2 separate regions of the Homo sapiens genome follow, and region 2 is linked to region 1. The links are contacts of gene promoters, found by promoter capture Hi-C in blood cells and fetal thymus (Javierre and others, 2016). All regions are on one chromosome and are shown on one strand. Each heading gives the region's core, a stretch centred on a gene start or on the middle of the fragment in contact. The rest is flanking DNA. Distances are from core to core; before and after follow the strand shown.

The links. The method cuts DNA at HindIII sites, captures the fragments that hold promoters and counts their contacts. A CHiCAGO score of 5 or more calls a contact.
Region 2: a contact is called between a fragment that was not itself captured here and the fragment with the promoter of PIGN in region 1, in 4 of 17 cell types (megakaryocytes, M2 macrophages, M0 macrophages and 1 more). The highest score is 7.8, in megakaryocytes.

Annotation. Positions count from the first base shown.
Region 1 is chr18:62,182,769-62,188,557 of GRCh38, reverse strand. It overlaps PIGN (phosphatidylinositol glycan anchor biosynthesis class N), which reads left to right and starts at 1,502. Exons shown (of 31, transcript NM_176787.5): 1 at 1,502-1,714. RELCH (RAB11 binding and LisH domain, coiled-coil and HEAT repeat containing) reads right to left here and starts at 1,303. Exons shown (of 29, transcript NM_001346231.2): 1 at 527-1,303. The coding sequence starts at 1,052. RefSeq lists silencers at 618-837, 1,788-2,000 and an enhancer at 988-1,197. The HindIII fragment of the contact is 4,021 bases long and covers 1-3,528 here.
Region 2 is chr18:62,414,384-62,420,014 of GRCh38, reverse strand. It overlaps the pseudogene RPL17P44. Among named protein-coding and RNA genes, the nearest start is that of TNFRSF11A, 92 kb to the right of the region's middle. RefSeq lists an enhancer at 1,581-1,630. The HindIII fragment of the contact is 6,401 bases long and covers 1-5,527 here.

The sequences.
Region 1 (5,789 bases), core at 253-2,752:
GTGCAGCAGAAAACCCAATTTTGGCGGTGAAAAAGTCGTCCCAAAGACAAAGGGTCTTAAGTACATCTGACTTTTCGGAGACAGCAGCAGTGTGTCCTATTCTTTCTCTCCTGGCTCAGACTCAAAGAACTACTGCAGGCAATTCAGGTAACACTATTTCCTGGTAGTGTGATTCAGGTAACTGGAGAAAAAGGAAAATGCTTAAAGCAATAAACTAGTATAAAAGGGAACCTTCTGGAGTCCCGTAATAGCCAGTGAACTAGAAACTCTTGATATTTTATAGATACTGACACCAGTAGGGGAGCCAGGAGCCAAGTGCAACACCAGCCAAGGGTTGGAAGCAGGCAGAGAGAACAGTCATTGCCTGATCCTCTTGCTTCCACCGCAAAAGAGCGCCCCCACCCCAATACTCTCGTTCCTTAAAATGTCCCTATCGGGACCCACGCAGAAATACCCCCTCTCCCCTACAGTAACTCCGTACAATCCCAAATACCCTGCCGGAGTGTGACAGGCTGCGTCCACTTACTGAGCTGTCCCCCGCCCGACGCTGTACTCGGTTCCCGACCTCCAGCGCCCCCAACGCCGGCTGCTCCAGGGACCCCTGGCGCCCCCATCCCCGGCGGGGTTCCACTTTGCCTCTCGAAGTTGCCTGGATTGGAGAAGTAGTCGCGCAGCCGAGGCAGCTCCCGGCCACTCTCTAACAGCTCGGTATGCAGCTCCAGGGCGGTCAGCAAGTATTGATCGCGCAACAGCTGAGCAGCGATCGCATCAATTGATAATCGGGCCGGGGTCTCCCCGGTGCCCCCCAGGGCCACTGCAGCCGCCGACGCCTCCCCAGGGAGCCCTGGCCGCGCACTGCTTCCTAAGGCCACGGGATCCTGTGGCGACAGCGAGCCCGCAGAGCCAGGATCTAGGCCACTTCCGGCGCCCAGCCGAAGTACTGCCCGCCGTTCCTCTGTTGCAGCTACCTCGTCATCGTCCTCATCCGAATCACTGAGAAATGGATTCACGCCGCCACCACTGCCACTACCTCCAGGCGCCATCGCCGCCATCTTATCCTGTCAGGAGTGTGGGCGCCTCCCTGACTGGTTCCGACGGGCCGCAGCCCGAATCCTCTAGGCCTCAGGGGACACAGCGCACCTCCACAGCCCCGGCCTGACCACGTCCTGCCTCCCGACTTAGAGACAAGGAGTACGCTCCAAGGCAGGAGATCCGGATGCAGCTGCACCTGATGCCTCAGCCTCTGCTGCACCAGCAGCCCGGCTCTGCAGGCGTCTTCCTGGTCTCCAGTCTCGCGAGAACTGGAGCGTGCCCCTGCCCCTCTCCCCGATCTAGCCCCGCCCCAGCCCCGCCCCAGCCCACTTCAGCTCCGCCCATTCCCAGCGCCAGATAGCAAAGATTGAAGGCCCCGCTCTCCGCTCAAAAGCAAAACTCCACCCACGACTCCTCCATGATTGGTCAGAGAAGGAAGGCGTGGAGCGGACTGACGGGAGACTGGCCCGAGAATTATCGCGATAGCAGCAGCGGCCGGGCAGGTATTGGGGGCGTTCCGGAATTGAGGGGTGGTTGTAGTGGTGGCTTAGGAATACCCTCCCGGCTATCGCTTCAGTGGGTAGAGGGGACCACTGCCCGAGAGCTTTAATGGAGCTGGGTCCTGCCTTCGCGCTGAGGAGCCCTCGTTTTCGAGATCAGGCCTGACCGGGATAAGCTCCAGGTAAAGTTCAGGGACCAGTGCGCGGAGGGTGTCGGCGCCCAAACTGTGGTGTCGCGCCCGCGGACGCGCTGTTTCCCTACTGCGCTGCACTTTTTCTCGCTATTTGCTGCCAGTGGTGACATTTTGTCCCCATGGATAGCAAGTGCCCAGGCCTGTAGTCGGAATGTGACTTCCTTTCTTTTCCCTTCTCTGCCACATGCTTGCACACTCGGGAGGCCTAGCGACAGCACGACTTCTCAGCCCCGGAGGTGGTCCTGCCTGTGGGTGGGGACGGGGGCTGGAGAGACTAAACGGAAAAGGGAACGCTGAGGTTGGCATTTGCCTGGATCTGGGAACATCGTCGAGTTGGAAAACAAATTGTTAGGTACTCAATAAACGCTTAGGATTTAATACACGATTTACACAACAGGGACCCTTCAGAATATCTAATGCTGTCTCACCAGTAGACAGATAAGTAAACTTAAGCCAAGAGTGGTTGTTATAAAATCAGCTCCACGCCGGGCGCGGTGGCTCACGCCTGTAATCCCAGCACTTTGGGAGGCCGAGCCGGGCGGATCACGAGGTCGGGAGTTCGAGACCAGCCTGACCAACATGGTGAAACCCCTTCTCTACTAAAAACACAAAAATTAGTTGGGCGTGGTGGCGCAAGCCTGCAATCCCAGCTACTCAGGAGGCTGAGGCAGGAGAATCGCTTGAACCCCGGAGGCGAAGATTGCAGTGAGCCGAGGTCGCGCCACTGCACTCCAGCCTGGGCGACAGAACGAGACTCCGTCTCAAAAAAAAAAAAAAAAAAAAAAAAAAATCAATTCCGCTAATAAGGAGTCAAAGGAATTAACATCATTTCTCTTATGTCCCAAACGATTCTTTATCCACTGTCTCCTGCAACATTTCTGACTCGTTCATGCAGGCTAGAATCAAGGTTTTGGAACTTAGAACTATTTTAAAAGTTGAATGCTTCAGAGAGTTTTGATTTTTTTGATGAAATGTTAGCATATAAAGTACATATCCTAAGTTTAGAAGATCAACGTTTATCTTTTATGTCATTCCTTGATTATGATCTGAAAAGGTAAAGGAATTTCCAGTCAATACAATTAGACTGCTATTTCTTATGGCTCCTATTTTTTTCACACACAAATGACCACTTTTCCAGGCTTTAGATTTCCTTTCTTAGTGTACAGGTAAGTGACATATTACATTCAGTGTGTAGTAAACATTCCACAGTAAAGTATCTCCCGTTAGCTCCATGGAAAAATTAAAATAGACGATTCTTACATAACCTTAGGTCAGGTTATTGGTTTACATGTAAAAGTATGCCAACAGTTAAGAGTAGGCTTTAATTTCAATATACCCAGGCTCAATAAACTAAAATTTTCATTTGAATGGGGATTTGGGTTTTTAAAATTTTATTTTTGCTAGAAGTTTAAAAAAAAAGTACCAAGAATTTAAACTATTTTTTTATAGGACATTAGTTCCCAATGTTTTAATGATAAATAGTTTTCTGTGCCATATATTAAAAGTAAAACATGGGGAAAAAAATCCCCCCAAATAGAATTGAAATGGCAAATACTGTATCCTGTTAGAGATTTCTTAGCAAAAGGGATTGCTGATCCGTATTTTAGTTGGATTTTCCAGAGAGATTAAAATGGAACCAATTTCTGGAATCCAGGAATGGAGGATTAGTGAATGGCATGGGAAGGGCATGATTAGAAATGGATTGTTTATATACAATATTTCCATCTCCATGATTGGGAAATTGAGAAATCTCCTGCATTTAGGATTCCTGAAGAGGATTATGCTTATAAGATAGAAAAGCTTAAGTTCAGATCCCAATTCTACTCATTATTTATTGTGAGACCTTGAAAAAGTTACCTAACTTCTCAGCCTCACTTGCATTCGTCTATCAAAGGGGATAAGGAAAGTACACAGAATTGAGAATGTTCTTGTCCCAGTGCCTGGTACCTGCTACACAATAACTATTACTGTGGTCACTTATTAATTATTGAAATATTAGTATGTGTTGAGAACATTTGACAAGTGTTTAAAAATAAAACTAATATCAATCGTTTTGGCAGTGCAAGCCTGAAAAAGCAATTAAGTCAGTAGGGCTGAAGGGAGTATCTTTAATTTGGGGTCTCAGTTCTAAAACACAAGTTGAAAATAGATTTAAAATGTTTCCTCAGAGTTGTAAGAACTTGCATGTAGAGGAATTCTTCCCATACAAATCTGTGGTTTTCTGCTTCTATTTCTGCCTCCTATCCTATAACCATGAACTTGTGTGTTTGATCTTGTAAGCCCATTAGAAATCAACTGCCCAGTCTTCCCAGTATGTACTTTTCTTTTCCACAATACACAGAGGTTTGGTTATTCGTGAATAATGTATAAGTAACACACACTGGAATATTAAAAATTACCGATCACTACTTATAATAATGTATTATTAATAGTGTTGGGAAATTTCCTTTCTACTTAGTAAGATTTTCATTAATCTAGGCCCTTACAACTAATGTTTCATCTGACTAATGATAGTTATTAAAGCTTGTGCCTTAGCAATGAAGATGTAAAAGATGCCTTTTTTCAAAGCACGTCAATCATTTTAGTATTTAAAAAATTATTTTAGGTTTTAATAGTCTTAAAAGAACCACAAGTAATATTCTGAATGCAAGTTTTGGTTGACTTGAGGTTTTAGTAATACCTCATGTTTTATTGTTTTTCAGTGTGTGGTAAACATCCACAGATAAACTAGATAACTTGTATTGGTACATGCATATATCTTTTTAAAATTTTAATAGTTATGTGTTTGTTTTGGAGGTATTTCTTTTTCAATAAATCTGAATAAATTGTGATTTTCTTTAAAGAGAAGTATTAAGTAATATTTAGTATTAAGCAATTAAACTAATTAAAATAAGTAGTTAGTGAATGCTGATATTTTGTAATAACTGCAATTTTATTTACATTAATAGTAAATTACTTTATCATAAAAGGTTTAGTTTTTTTTTTTTTAAAGTATTTTCAGTCTTCACATCTTGTTCTGGAGGAACAAAAACAGAAGCAGGGCATCCTCTAGTGGCTGTAGTGCATATTGCATTTACCCTTGAAATGATAATTCTAAATAATTTATTCAGCAAACATTTGAGTCCTTACTAAGTGCATAAGACTCTGATGGGTGTTGGAGATGCCCCGTCCTGCTGTCATGGAATTGTGGTGAAGTGACAGAGACAGACATTAATTCAAATAGTCGTAGACAAAGCTATGTAATTACAAACTGAAGTAAAAGTTTTCGTTTCTGACTTCACCTGCATAGTCCCTGAGGAAGTGATGCTTGAAATGGAATGTTAGGAGAGAGTGGAAGATAGGTTGCAAGTACATTCTGCAGAGAGGAATTGAGCCTACAAAGGTCTTATAGCAGTGGGATACTTGAATAAAAGAAGGGGCCAGTGATGTGAGATGTTACAAAGTAAAGGGGAGTGCTATGAGACAGGTTTAGAAAAGAAGGCAGAGGCTAGTCTATAAAAGACCTTGTTAGTCACATTAAGGATTTTAGTCTAGATTAGTAGGTGAAAAGGCACTGGAGAGTTTTTTTTTTCCAGCTGTGACTTCATTTTTAAATTTATTTTTTAATATACGATTTTATGTATTCATTGTGTACATGATGTTCTTCAGTTTATATACATTGTGAAATGCTCAAATCTAGCTAAGTAACAAATGCATTACCTTACACATAGTTATCATTTTTGTGATGAGAAATTTGAACATCTACCCTTTTAGCAGTTTTCAAGAATACAATATATCATCATTAACTAGAGTCACCATGCTGTACAACAGAGCTCTTGAACTTATTCCTTCTATCTAACTCTAATATGAATGCTTTGATCAGTATCTCTACAATTGCCCCCCGCTGTGGAACTACCCCAGCCTCTGGTTACCACCATTCTGCTTCTAATTCAGTGGGGTCAACTTTCTTAAGTTCCACATAGGAGTGAAATCATGCAGTATTTGTGTTTCTGCACCTGGCTTATTTCACTTAGCATACCAGGCTTCAGGAACATCCGTGTTGTTGCAAACGTGTCTTTTGACT
Region 2 (5,631 bases), core at 1,078-3,577, 230 kb before region 1:
TATTAGTCTGTTTTCACATTTCTATAAAGAACTACCTAAGACTGGGTAATTTATGAAGAAAAGAGGTTTAATCGACTCACAGTTCCACAGGCTTAATAGGAAGCAAGACCAGGAAGCCTTAGGAAATTTACATTCATGATGGAAGGCAAAGGGGAAGTAAGCGCATCTTACTGTGGTGGAGCAGGAGAGAGAGAGAGCAAAGGTGGAAGTGTCGCACACTTTTATTTATTTATTTATTATTTATATATATTTTTTAATTATACTTTAAGTTCTAGGGTACATATGCACAACATGCAGGTTTGTTACATAGGTATACATGCGCCATGTTGGTTTTCTGCACCCATTAACTCGTCATTTACGTTAGGTATTTCTCCTAATGCTATCCCTCCCCCCTCCCCCAACCCCATGACAGGCCCGGGTGTATGATGTTCCCCGCCCTATATCCAAGTGTTCTCATTGTTCAATTCCCACCTGTGAGTGAGAACATGCGGTGTTTGGTTTTCTGTCCTTGTGATAGTTTGTTTAGAATGATGGTTTCCAGCTGCATCCATGTCCCTGCAAAGGACATGAACTCATCCTTTTTTTACGACTGCATAGTATTCCATGGTGTATATGTGCCACATTTTCTTAATCCAGTCTATCATTGATGGACATTTGGGTTGTTTCCAAGTCTTTGCTATTGTGAATAGTGCCGCAATATGTCACACACTTTTAAACCATCAGATCTTGTGACAACTCACTCACTGTCATGAGAACAACATGGGGGAAATCTGCCCCCATGATCCAGTCACCTCCCACCAGGCCCGTCCTCCAATTCAACATGAGATTTGTGTGGGGACAAAAATCCAAACCATATCAAACAGTAAGCAACAGAAAACATAGTATATCCACAATGGACTATGATTTGGAAAGAAAAAGGAATTAAATACTGATACATAGTACAGCATTGACAAACCTCAAAAACATTATGAAAGAGGACAGTCACCACGACTGCATACTGTATGATTTCATTTTCATTTCATTGTATGAAATATCCCAGATAGGTAAATCTAGGGAGAATGCAAAGATTAGTGGTCACTCAGGGCTGGGGGTGGGGGGTGCAGGTTGGAAGAAATAGTGAGTGACTGTGAGTGGATGCACAGTTTCTTTTTGGGGGTGATGAATTGTTCTAAAAATTGAATGTGGTGATGGTTGCACAACTCTGAATGTACACACAAAAAACCCATTGAATTGTGCACTTTAAAGAGATGAATTATATGGTATGTGAATTTTATTATTTGTATTTCTTTACACATACCAGTCATCTTCTGTTTGGGCGTTAGTTCTCAATTAGGATATAAAAGGATTCAGCAGTGATGGAGTTTCTCACAAAGGGGTGATGGGCCAAGGAGGTCATGGTCAGAAGGGCAGAGTGCACCCTTCACTGGCCCCTCTTAGGTGATGCTTGCAGAGTTGCTCACAGTTGAGCTCTTTGTAAGAAAGAACATAGAGGAAAAGCTGTAAGCTGCCAGCTATAGAAACCCCTGCAATGCTCCCTTCCTTCCTGTGAGGCACTTGTTCTAATGCGGGTAGTAACTTCTTTGAAATGCTCCAATCATGCCTTTCAGGGTGAAACCCCACATCAATAGCCAGCTTGGCAGCTCCCCAAGTTAGGCATCCATGACTTTCCTCTCTTTCACTGGTGCAACTGACACCATCTTGGAGTCCTGGTTGTCCACCATTGGTCATGTGAATTACTGTTGGTAACAGCTCAATAATGCTGTCATTTATAAAGAAGAGTGAACTTTTCTGGTAGAGATACATGTCAACAATGACAACACACCCTGGTTGGTCCTATGTCATAGGCTGTTTTAATTTACATGTTTACTTTTCAGCTCCTCTACCGAGGAACCACAAAGTAGTAATCTTTGCATCCCCAGGGCCCATGAAAGTTCATCCCTAAATGTTGAACGCTCCATAGATTGGTAGCCTGCTAGCTGGCAACTTGGGAAAATTAATTGCAAGAGAATTGAATCCTCAGTGAGTGCTTCTTTGTAAACATGGGATATTGAAATTTCTGTAAAGCAAGCCCTCACATAAAAAACTCACTTTACAGTGTGAAAATGCCAAAGTTGATTTAAAAATAAAATAGAAGTTAGGACAAATATATGCTTTTGCAAGCATTTATTCAGTGTTTAAATTCAAACAGCTCATATAAATGATATGTTCTAAACATTTCTTGGGGGGTACTTGGTCATGGGTAGGGTGAAATGAAGTTTTTTAAAATAAAAGTTCCATAAAGTTTTGACTGAAGGTATCATGTTTTTCCCCAGTTAATCTTTCAGGGTTAAGCATTGCTTTTCTTTATTGTGCCAAGAACCTCCAACTTCTAAGTTAGGTTTAATCTTCTCAAAAAGTATGCTCTGAGTATTTGATGGGTATGAATGTCTCCAAAGGTATTCAATGGAATATGCTGGTAAAAAGAGCTCTTTGAGGCTTCTCATTCTATGAATTTCAACGATTCCATTTTCATAAACTCCCCATGCTTGAGCTGCTCTGAATGAAAACTTGACAACTCAAGCCTATCTGCAAGAAAAACTTCTTTATTCAACACATAATGTAACCAGGGAAGATTTTTCTTTTTTGACAATTCCAATGGTGTTACTGTCCAAAAGGAGTCTTGTTCTCTTAGAATGAAGTTCTCAAAATATAGATTACAGAAAAAAAAAAAAGGAAATTGAAACCTCACTGAGATACTACTTCTCATTTCTCAGAGGGCCAAAAAAATCATAAAGAAGGACACCATACTCATTTCTGCTGGCAATATTAAGTGGTATAATCTTTATAGAAGAGAGTTTGACAATAGCTAGCAACATTATATGCATTTGCCTTTTGACTCATCAATCCCACTTCTAGGAATCTATTCCAAAGATGCTCTCAAAATAAGAAATTCATATACACAAGGCTTTTCATGATGACACTGCTAGTAAGAGCAAAAAACTGGGAATAGCCCAAATGTCCATCAACAGAGTAATGGTTGAATAAAGTACCTTCACATGTTGGAGTACTATGTAGCTGAAAAAAAGAACAAAGTTTTCTATGTATTGGTGTCAAGTGAGAATAATTTTTAAGTGCAATCCAGATGCAGAAAATGTGTATAATGGGTTACCTCTTCTCTGTGAAGGAAAAAACAACAAATATTTACTATATTTATTTGCTTACATAAAAAAATAATTGAAGGACAAATCAAAACTAAAAAATATTACTGTGGGAGAGGGAGGCAACAGAGGAGGGTACAGGTATGACAGCTAGACTTTCTGTTTATTTGATGGTATCTAGGAATTATTACTAATATTTTTAGATGTGATGATACTGTAGTATGTTTAAAAATTGCCTTATCTTTAGTGATATAAACTAAAGGCTTTTTAAAAGATAAAATTATGTGATATCTGGGACTTTTTAAAACTTTTAATTGCATTTATTCATTTATTGTCTTGAGACAGAGTCTCACTCTGTCACTCCGGCTGGAGTGCAGTGGCGCGATCTCGGCTCGTTGCAACCTCTGTCTCCCAGGTTCAAGCGATTCTCCTGCCTCAGCCTCCTGAGTAGCTGGGATTACAGGCACGCACCACCACGCCCAGCTAATTTTTTAATTTTTAATAGAGAAGGGGTTTCACCATGTTGGCCAGGCTGGTCTCAAACTCCTGACCTCAAGTGATCCACCCACCTCGGCCTCCCAAAGTGCTGGGATTACGGGCGTGAACCACTGTGCCTGGCCTTAACTGCATTTATTTTAATGCTGAATTTACTCCTGTGCCATAAGTTTTTGTTTCTTCAGTTTCTTCTGGGACATCTTTTTCTTCTGGGCAACCTCTTCTTTTGGTTTAGGAATAATTTGTTCCTTTTCAGTAAGGATCATCTCGATGTGGCAGGGAATGCTCACGTATGGCTTAATCTAACCATGAGCTCTGTAGGTCTGGTAACACATCTTAGATGCTTTGTCCACTTGGATATGCTCAATGACCAGAGAGTCTACATCTCAACCCTTAAGTTCAGCATTGCTCTCTGCATTTTTAAACATGTGCAGCAAAAATTCAGCACTCTTCTTGGGTCACCAACCTTGTGTCCAGCCCCACTGCTTGGCCTGGGCACACCTACCAACTCCACCACTGTAACGTTGGAATGGTACACACTGTTTCTGTAAAGTGACATCTTTCAGATACTTCATGGCTTTTTGTATATGCATAGCCTTGATGGCCTGGGCAGTTTCACGAGTGTTCTTAAAGTGAACAGGAAAATTTGAACCTCTTGATTTGTATGATTGTGTGGGCTTCTACAGATCAAGTGAATAGCAAACCATTTTCACAGATTACCTCAGGTTGTACCACTTAGTATTGCCAGCAGAAACACTTAGGGGAAGAGCTGAGACTTTCTTTAAAATAATTCGCTGGGGATGGAAGGGAAAGTAGGTTGAAGTAAAGAAACAAGAATGGCCAGGTGTTGATAATTGTTGAACTTGGTTGATAGCTACATAGGTGTTCACTTTATTTTTACTTCTTTTTCATGTTTGAAGATTCCCTAAGTAAATTAACATGTGTCATGAACTCTAGCTTTCCTCTTTCTTGACTTCTGATAATTTACCTAGAATATTATTTAATGCTTCTGAATCTATGCTTGTCCCATGAGCTGTAATATTAAATGAGCTAATGATCATGCCATCTTTCTTTGCTAGTTCTGCTAAACTGCTTTCCATGCATTGAAAGGAAATATTTTCATTACAACGATGACCAACCAGAAGGCAAAATAATTTGTTGATTGCGATTGGCTTCCGTCAGCTATTTTCTTTGTGACTGAAAATTACGTTTGTAGCTTAACAGAACCACTGGAACCGGGAGGCTCCTTCATGTCCATCCATGCCTGACTTCCGTTGCCAGGTGGAAGACAAGCCCTTTTGCTGTCTGAGGAGCTTGTCAGCATAACTCCTAGAGATGTCAGGGTGAATCTTGCTCCAGTCCCTCAGCCTGGAGTTCAGAAACGTTCTTTGGACAACACTGTGCTAGCCTGGAGTCTAGGATGCTGAGGCAGCATTTCATTCATGTCTGGGTGTACTGGTAGTGTACCCCATATCCCTGCAGGTCCTATATACAATGTCCTGTATAACTCTAAGATGGAAAATGTGAACCTGGTGTAGGTAAGATGATCTCTGACATATACAGAGATTAGGCTACATACAAGCCCACCTCAGCAATAGATGGTTAGGTTTCCAGGAAGGGTAATGGGACCCTTATTTTCTCAGACTTTATACCCAATGTGTACATCTCTCTCCCATGAGGATTTTATGACCCAGATGCTAAAAGAATGCATTGGGGATGGAAGGAGAAAAGGGGTTGAGGTATAGAAAAAAGAAGATAATTTAAAATTAATTAAAGTTGTAAAGGTATTTGCTCAGTGGTACCAGCCACATTTCAAGCACTCAGCAGCCATGTGGCCACTGGTTACCGTCTGGTCAACATGGAAAATTCTGTAGGGCAGCTCTGATCTGGAAGCTTGCACTGAGAATCTTGATGGTTTTTCACTTGAACTCCAGCCGAATTGACTTCCTTCTTTAACCTTTAGAAATTAAATCCTGTTGATGTCATACAAGGCATCTCT